Linked DNA regions of Homo sapiens: regions 1 and 3 are each linked to region 2. Evidence: promoter capture Hi-C in 16 types of primary human blood cells and fetal thymus (Javierre and others, 2016). All regions are on one chromosome and are shown on one strand. Each heading gives the region's core, a stretch centred on a gene start or on the middle of the fragment in contact. The rest is flanking DNA. Distances are from core to core; before and after follow the strand shown. Region 1 overlaps BMPR1B (bone morphogenetic protein receptor type 1B). Region 2 holds the start of BMPR1B (bone morphogenetic protein receptor type 1B). Region 3 overlaps BMPR1B (bone morphogenetic protein receptor type 1B).

Region 1 (2,700 bases), core at 6-2,505, 320 kb after region 2:
ACAAAGTACTGTGAAGCTAGAGTAGTTATGCTGTTTTTGCTGCTACTCTAGGTAAATTACTGTTATTTAGTAATGGAAATTAAAAAAAAACCTGGACCTGAGTTTGGTAATGGAAATTTAAAAATACCTGGACCTGAAATCAGATAGAAAAGTCAGAAAAGTTACATGCCTGCTCATGATTATTTTAAATATGAAATAGAGGTATGTTTTGGGATGAGCAAAGAAGTAAAGCATCCATCTGCATATTTCTTTTTTTCATGAGGCTTAACATTTGCAGAAGTAGGCACTGACCTGGAAACCAAAAATTTGTAGTCTTGTTGATAAATGTATTCCTCTAAAGAACATCCCACTTACTCTTAAGTAATTTACCATCCTGCTTTACACACTGTAGGTCTTAAGATTAAATGTGTCTTTCTAAAGTGCTGATAGCTGTTATTTAACTCAAACCTTATCTTTAAGACAAGCCTCATAAATTTAATAATAATTAGGCATAGTTTCCACTGGAATTTTTACTGTTTTCACCATCTGTTCTTCTCAGAGTCTGTATAAAAGGTATTGGATCTGTTTCACAGTAACTTAGTAAATATTCACTTCTAATAATTATTTTCTATTGGAAAGTGACTGCTATACTTATGATTTTTAGGCAGTTAATAGTGAATCTATTGTTGGTCTGTTTTTTAGATGCATGATAGCGGTACTTTATTTTCACATGTTGTATGTAGACGATATATTAATAGTATTAGTAGTATGATGCTAATGAAAGAATATAATCCTGTATCATTTAATAGCCATTGTGTACTTGAGTGTTTATGCCCAGTTTTGATTGTTGTTTAATTTGCCTTTATAATTCTTACCCATATAGTCCTCAGTTTGGAGTAGAAAGACTTTGTAGAACACAGTCAATTATTTCCATGTTTCCAAGTAGGCACTCAGATACAGTGGTACTAGTTGGCCTGCCTTTTGGTTTATATTACCGTAAGGCTTCTGTCTCTCATATTTTTTGAGAGAATTTTCATATTCTGTCTCTCATACTTTATAGAACACAGTCAGTTATTTCCATGTTTCCAAGTAGGCACTCAGATACAGTGGTACTAGTTGGCCTGCCTTTTGGTTTATATTACTGTAAGGCTTCTGTCCATAGCTTTCTTTCCCCTTCCATCCAGCCACTCTCACAAGCCTGATGTCCATTCTTTTTTTTTCTAGTTGGGCTGAAGGATCAGACTTGTTAATTTGTCTAGTGCAAAGAGAGAAAGAAGAGAAGACCCAGGCATTGAACTATGAATATCCTGTAACTATAAAACAAGGCATATTTTTGTGTAAATACTAAAATGTACAGAAGACATTCAAAAATAGTTTCTAAATTGTATGCAGAAATGGAAGTGTTCAGTGAATAGGCTTATTTCTTCCCAAGAGTCCTAACTTGACTTACAACCCTCATTTCACTGTATGTGTAGTAAAATTTTAGGATGAACTGATGCTTTGATGGGAGGGATGAGCTTAATTTGTACTCTGCAGGAATCCATTCCAACTTTATTAGTATTATACTTGAGATTGGTCTTATGCTATAGTTAGCTTGTCTTTTTTAGTTCATTATAATAATGTATGTATTTGCTAATGTAAAACTACTATGAAAAGTTATAATCTAGTCTTTAAAAATACTTTATACTTAGAAATTTAAATGTCTTTCTTCAAAAATTTGCAAGACTGAAAATCAGAGTTGGATGCATATGTGAGCCAGTTAACATCAAACAATGAAGTTTTTGAAGATTGTAGCTAATAGTAGTATATAAATTGCTCACACTTATATGAGGCAAACTGTTCTAGGTACTAAAAGCATTTTACATATATAAGTATTATTATCATCTTCATTTTACAGATGAGGAAATGAAAGTTCATGGAGGTTAAGTAAATTGTCTGAGGTCACACAGCTAATTATCCAAGTAATCAGTGGAGTGACTCATATGTAAATAAATTATGCTACTTGGAATAAGAGGGAGGTAGTTGGTAGGCCAGAACATGTGTGTGCAACTAAGGTAGAGTAAAATATATAACACAGTAAAGTTCTGTGGAAACGTTAAAAAAGAAACACAATCAGAATTATAAGCAAAAACATGGGAATACAAAAACATGGTACATCTAATTAGAATAAGGTATGGATAGGGAGCAGACTATAGTAGAAGATGAAGCTGGAATGGAAGATTGAATCAGTTCATGAAGAACATTGAATGCCTTCCTAAGAACCTTAGAACTGTTAGAGATTTTTATTTGCTTTACTTTATTCGCTTTACAAGCATATGCACGTGTGTTGTCTTTAGAAGGCAGCAGTGCAAACACTAGATGATAGAAATGGGAAGGAGATCAGAGAGTATTACAGTAACATTGGTTAGGGACAGGTATAACGGTAGGAGAAAGGAAAGACTCCAGCCAATAGCTTGTATTTTGTAGTAATGGAACACGGAAGACATAGGAAAACCTATCCTTCCTACTGGGAAAAAGAGAAATCAAATGTACATACACCGGCTGATGGTGATGTAGTATTATTACTATTATGGAGTGATTTGGTAAAACAGTAATGTGCAGTAGTGAGCATCTTAGCTCCACCTTAAGACCCTATATTATATAGGCCTCAGTCATTTAGACAAACGGGAATACTTGTGTCTATTTTGCCAGGCTCCGTTAAGAGTTATATGAAAACATGTG
Region 2 (2,700 bases), core at 12-2,511:
AATGAATTTTTTATTGATAAGTGCAAAAAGATTACATTTAATGTTTAAAAAAGATTTAATAGAAACAATTTAAGAAAAGGGAGTAGTTGAAAGAAAATAGTAGGCTAAGAATTGAATATAGAAATAGATATGAAGAAAATTGGAAGAAAGTTACTTCAGGGTGAAAAACTGTTAAAAAAAAAAATGACTTAGATCACACACTTGGTGGTGACCAGAGACTGTTTGTCAATATTTTGGAGGAAAAAAATTTTACAGAAGGAGAAAATAAGTAATGCTGGAGAGTGGGAAGCTGAAAGGTATTGAAAGGAAAAGAGTATTTGGAAGTCACGAGATATCTCCCTGGGAAATAGAGTTGGCAAAATGGCTGATTTTAAAGAGGTTAACTATTCTCCCCAAATTTCTGACTGTGAACTAGCTTACTTTATATTTACCCACTTAGAAAGTGTTTCAACACTTAAAGACTTAGCAAGGAGACCACAAAGTATAAGACGTTACATACTTTTCCAAAAGAAACACGACTAACTGTAAACTGTCATCAAATACAAATGGAATGGGTTTTCTCTTTTGGGTTTTATTTTTTTATTTTTAATTTTTTGGTGGTTGTTTTCGTTTAACGGTTTCAAAAAATATGTAGAAGGGAAATATTTCATTTCCCTTGGACGCTCAACTGTATATATTTCAAGATTCTTAAAACCCCCACCTCAAACTGCAGGCTTAATTTTAATGTGTTCATTTTTTACAAGGTGTGTCAACGTTTTATCAATTTCTGAAAAGTGTCTATGGCCCCGAAAAGTTGAAATCCACGACATTATATCATCTCTGCGAGCCCTTTCCAGCTCTCAAGGTACAATAATTCCACGAATCTTTGTTCTTCAAACCAGGAGGTTTTCTGGAAACCTTCTTAAACAACCAGGACAGGACCCATGAGGGAAATCTTGGGGATGCTCTGAGCAGCGGACGGGGCTTGGGAAGCGCACCCCTGTACCCGGGCTGCCTCCGGCCCGCACCCCGCCGCTCCCCAAGTCGGCTCCGCACTCCGCACACAGGCGGCGGCGCTGGGGCCGCTCCAAGTGCGTTGAGAAGTGTAATCCCTCCGCTAAGTACTTGGCTCTCAGTCTCCAATCACTAGTGGGAGCTGGAGAGGGCAAGTGAAAAAAAAAAATTCCAGAGGCAGCCGAGGAGCGAGAGGGAAAAAAAAAAAAAAAAAAAAAAAAAGTCCCGCGGTGGCGGCGGCGGCGGCGGCGGAGCGGCCGCGGCGGCCAGAAGTTGACGGCGCAGCCGGGCGCGGGGCGCGGAGTCGGCGGGGCCTCGCGGGACGCCGGGCAGTGCGGAGACCGCGGCGCTGAGGACGCGGGAGCCGGGAGCGCAGCCGCGGGTAAGGCGCGCGCGGCGGGGCCCCGTCCCCTGCGGGTGGCCGAGTTCCCGAGCGCGCGGGAGGCGGCCGAGCCGGCGAGAGCCGGGCAGAGCGAGGGGCGGCGCGGGACGGGTAGCGGCTGGGTGCGGAGCTGGGCGGCGGTCGCCCTAGGCAGGACGGAGCGCGCGAGGGAGAGGGCGAGAGCGAGGGCGGGCTGCGCGGCCGTGGGGCGGTGGCGGCGGCGGGGAGGGGGTCAGGCGGTGGCCGCCTCGGCTTTGTGCGCGGGCGGCTCTGCCGGGACCCCGAGGCCTCGTGCCTGCGCAGGCGAGGAGTCGGGGCAGCGGCGGCGGCGGGCGGGACACGTGCTTCGGGCTGTAGGGACGCCCCAAGGCAGGGAGTCGGACCTGCGAGCGGAGGGATGGGGCGGGAGGGCGAGCTGAGGGCAGTCGCGGAATCCGGGAAATGGGAGGGAGCCCGGCGGGGCGGGGGCCCAGGGCCAGCCCAGGCGGGACCCGCAGGCACCCACCTGCCCCGGACGCCTCCCGAGACCCAGCCTTGCCGTGGGGGAAAGTGCGCAGCGGGCTGGTCCCGGCGCCTTGGACTGGGCTCCGTCTCTGCTTCAGTTGCCTGTCTCTTCTCCTCTCTCTCCTGCTTCTCTCTCTCTATGCCTCTCTCTCAAGTTCTGGGTCTTTCATTCTCTCCCTTTTCTTCCTTTCTCCCTTCCTCTCCTTATTGCTATCCTTTGCCTCTCCCCCCGGTCTCTCTTTCCTTCCGTGCGTCTGTCTCCCTCTCCCCACCGCCTGCTCTGGCTCTCCCAGTGTGTCCCTCCTCTGTCCCTTCATCCTCTTCCCTCTGTCACTTTCGCACAATCTTTTGGTCTCTCTCTCTCTCTCAAGAGGCTTTCGCTCCCGGTCTTCCTGGCTCCCCTGTCTCTTGCTCTCTGCGCCCATCTCTCTGCTCGTCCCTCTTTCTGTCCAGGCTCCGTGTTTCCGCCTGTGTTTGGCGGTGTTGGAGAAGAGCCTCTGGAAGTTGTCCGCTGTGGTGCGGGTCTTACTTCTTTAGAGCTGCACCCCTCCAGCTGGGTCCTGCTGTTTGTTCTGAATGGAAACGCTGCAGTTCCCTTGAGTTATTAGAAACTGCTCTTTTCTTAGCCACCTTTCCAGCAAGGTGAGGTCAGTGACTACGAGCGGCCACAAAGGTGCCAGTGAAAGACAACGGAGGAAGAGAGCCGTTTCACTACCTCCAACAGATAAAGAAAATGTGTTAATACCAAACTTACCTGCAGCAAAGCAGAGCCACCTGAGAAAAGGTTCTTGAGTTCTGCAAAGAAACATAAAAGGCTCCAC
Region 3 (2,700 bases), core at 140-2,639, 300 kb after region 2:
TTCCATAGGTTTCCTATTGTCATATTTATGTCTGGCCTAGTTGACACTAATTTAAAATTCAAAAAATAGGTTATACATTTTTTTTTAGTATAATCAGGGCAAATAGGGAATCCAGTAAGAGGAGGATAACAAACATGGCTGTGAATAGGTAGTTTCACAATTAGAATGATAATATTGCTATGCGGCATCAGTTTTTGGTAATATTTTAAGTGAAAAATGATCCTTATTACCATATGGCAAAATATACTGAAAATCTGAACTGTTAGACCAACACAGCTGTTAAATGCATAAATGTGGTTATGTGTTTAAAATGTTTTCTACTACAGCTATTTTGTGGCATTTCTTAATCTCAGGCTATTAATCGGCAGTAACTGCAAGTTGTGGTGAGCATCACAGATGTAAGAAATTTGATCTCTGGTAATTTACCTGGGAAGAAAATGGCTAAACTATAGTTTTCAACTTAAGTTCTGCTCATTAGATTGGATAGTAATTTCACGTAATTGCCAAGTACAGACTGAAATTATTTGGTTTCACCTTTTTTTATTATTTTCAAAATGCTAGCAACCGTATGCAAGTCTTATCTGTGTATAAATGTCTGTACATAGTATAATTCAAACTTGTAAATTACAAATATATGAAGGCTTTTGAAAAAACATTGGAACAGCAAAATAACTCAAATTAGTTTCTTTTTTCTCTGTAAGCCAACTGAATCTGAAATAACATTGGACAGATATTTTATTGATTTAGAACATTGTACAAATCTTTTATTGATTTAGAATTGCCAGGAATAAATCTATGAATTCTTCCCCCAACTTTTCAAATGCATATCTATTTTTAGAATTCATATAAGAATTTGAACAAATCCTCAAATAAGAGAAAATATTGACAACTAATTATAGAACAATTATCTTAATCAGCTAAGTTTTCTGTGAAGCTTTCTTATGCTGCATTTTAGGTCCAGATGGCCTCTTTTGGTCTTGATTATTATACTTGTTATCTGTAAAATAGAGACTTTGTCTATATTAATATATATTTGTTGGTTTGGAAAAGTGAATAGTAAAATACATAAGGATGATCTTGTGACTTTGCACTCTATTTTTACTCTAGACCTCTCCATGTTTCTTTTAACTTGGAAAATATCTTTCCGGATTAACTGATTACTCTGCTTGATACTATCTCTGTTACATTCTTTTGATGATTAGTTAACTATATAAAATCATAGTATTGATATTTTGGTTATAAAGAACAGAATCTTAAGTAGAGAAAGAAGTTTAATGGAGACATAAAGAAAAACTAAAGGAAACACAGGCCTCATGGGACCCAGCAGGCCAGGAGGACCGGAACATCTCCTTGTCTATGTCTGTCTCTCTCTGAGGGCCTTGTGCACGTTCCACTCTCGCTGTGTGCGTCTGCTCCCTTCTTTTCTTTTTGTTTAAAATTCTTTAATGGACGCTCCTTGTATTTAGGATAAAATCCAGATCTTTCTGTGTCCTGCAAAGGTCTGATATCAGCTGGCTCCTGACTCATCTTGCAGCTCATCTCACTGCTTACTGAGCATCAGCCATATAGGCCTGAAAACAAACAAAACAAAACAAAACAAGACAAAAATGATCCAACCTTTTTCTCACTCAGGTACTTCACATATACTGTTTTCACAGTCTGGAAAGTTCTTTGCCTTTCTACTCTGTTTATCCATGCATTTGCATAAGTGCCATTTAGTTAAGTTTTCCTTAACAATCTAAATTAAATGAAACCCCTTTGATATAATCCCTCATTGTGTTTTATTTTTCCTTTATGGTACATATCATAATTTATCATTATACATGTCACTCTCCTGCTGGAAGCTAAGCTTCTCAGAAGAACAAACTCTGTCCATTTTATTTATTGTTGTGTCTTGAGTGTATAGCACAGGCTTGGTGTATAGAGGAATCTATGTCCCTGGACATACTTATAGTTTCTTGCTTGACTCAAAATGGTGGCTGCAGTCCCTAATGTTCCAAGACCATTTTGCTTAGCTCTGCAGAGTTAACTGACAGATGTTTCACTTTTTTTTTTTGAGACAGAATCTCACTCTGTCACCAGGCTGGAGTGCAGTGGTGTGATCTTGGCTCACTGCAACCTCCGCCTCCCGAGTTCAAGTGATTCTCCTGCCTCAGCCTCCCGAGTCGCTGGGACTACAGGCACACGCCACCACGCCCAGCTATTTTTGTTGTATTTTTAGTAGAGACGGGGTTTCACCATGTTGGCCAGGTTGGTCTCAATCTCTTGATCTTGTGATCCACCCGCCTTGGCCTCCCAAAGTGCTGCACTTTTATTTTTAATTTCTTTGGAGGGAGAATTTGATTGGCTGCGGACCCTTAGAATAATCAAAGGTAACCTACTAGCCATGTTAAAGGTTTTTGATTGCCAGTGTAATCCAAACCCTTTTCTAGAAAAACTGCACCTGCTCACAGTGTCTATTATTGTCTGGTTTTTCTAGAAGAGGGTTTGGATTATATTGACAATCAAAAACCTTTAACATGGCTACTCTTGTCACTTATGATAGCAATATAAATACTTCCAGGACTCTTTTGTTTGTAGTGAATTGATATTGGCTAGCAAATGAGTTATTTATCAACTAAATGTTTTGAAAATTATTTTAAAAAACACTTTAATATTTCTCACTTGAACTTCAGAATTCAGCAAATGTTACTACCGAAA

What was found. The method cuts DNA at HindIII sites, captures the fragments that hold promoters and counts their contacts. A CHiCAGO score of 5 or more calls a contact.
Region 1: a contact is called between a fragment that was not itself captured here and the fragment with the promoter of BMPR1B in region 2, in 1 of 17 cell types (fetal thymus). The highest score is 7.8, in fetal thymus.
Region 3: a fragment that was not itself captured here is called in contact with the fragment with the promoter of BMPR1B in region 2 in 1 of 17 cell types (fetal thymus); the score reaches 5.6 in fetal thymus.

What each region holds. Positions count from the first base shown.
Region 1 is chr4:95,074,709-95,077,408 of GRCh38, forward strand. All of the region lies in intron 3 of BMPR1B (bone morphogenetic protein receptor type 1B), which reads left to right. Among named protein-coding and RNA genes, the nearest start is that of BMPR1B, 320 kb to the left of the region's middle. The HindIII fragment of the contact is 9,640 bases long and covers 1-2,700 here.
Region 2 is chr4:94,756,694-94,759,393 of GRCh38, forward strand. BMPR1B (bone morphogenetic protein receptor type 1B) reads left to right here and starts at 1,262. Exons shown (of 13, transcript NM_001203.3): 1 at 1,262-1,375. BMPR1B-DT (BMPR1B divergent transcript) reads right to left here and starts at 840. Exons shown (of 3, transcript NR_121610.1): 1 at 701-840. The HindIII fragment of the contact is 4,388 bases long and covers 1-2,700 here.
Region 3 is chr4:95,055,208-95,057,907 of GRCh38, forward strand. All of the region lies in intron 3 of BMPR1B (bone morphogenetic protein receptor type 1B), which reads left to right. Among named protein-coding and RNA genes, the nearest start is that of BMPR1B, 300 kb to the left of the region's middle. The HindIII fragment of the contact is 915 bases long and covers 933-1,847 here.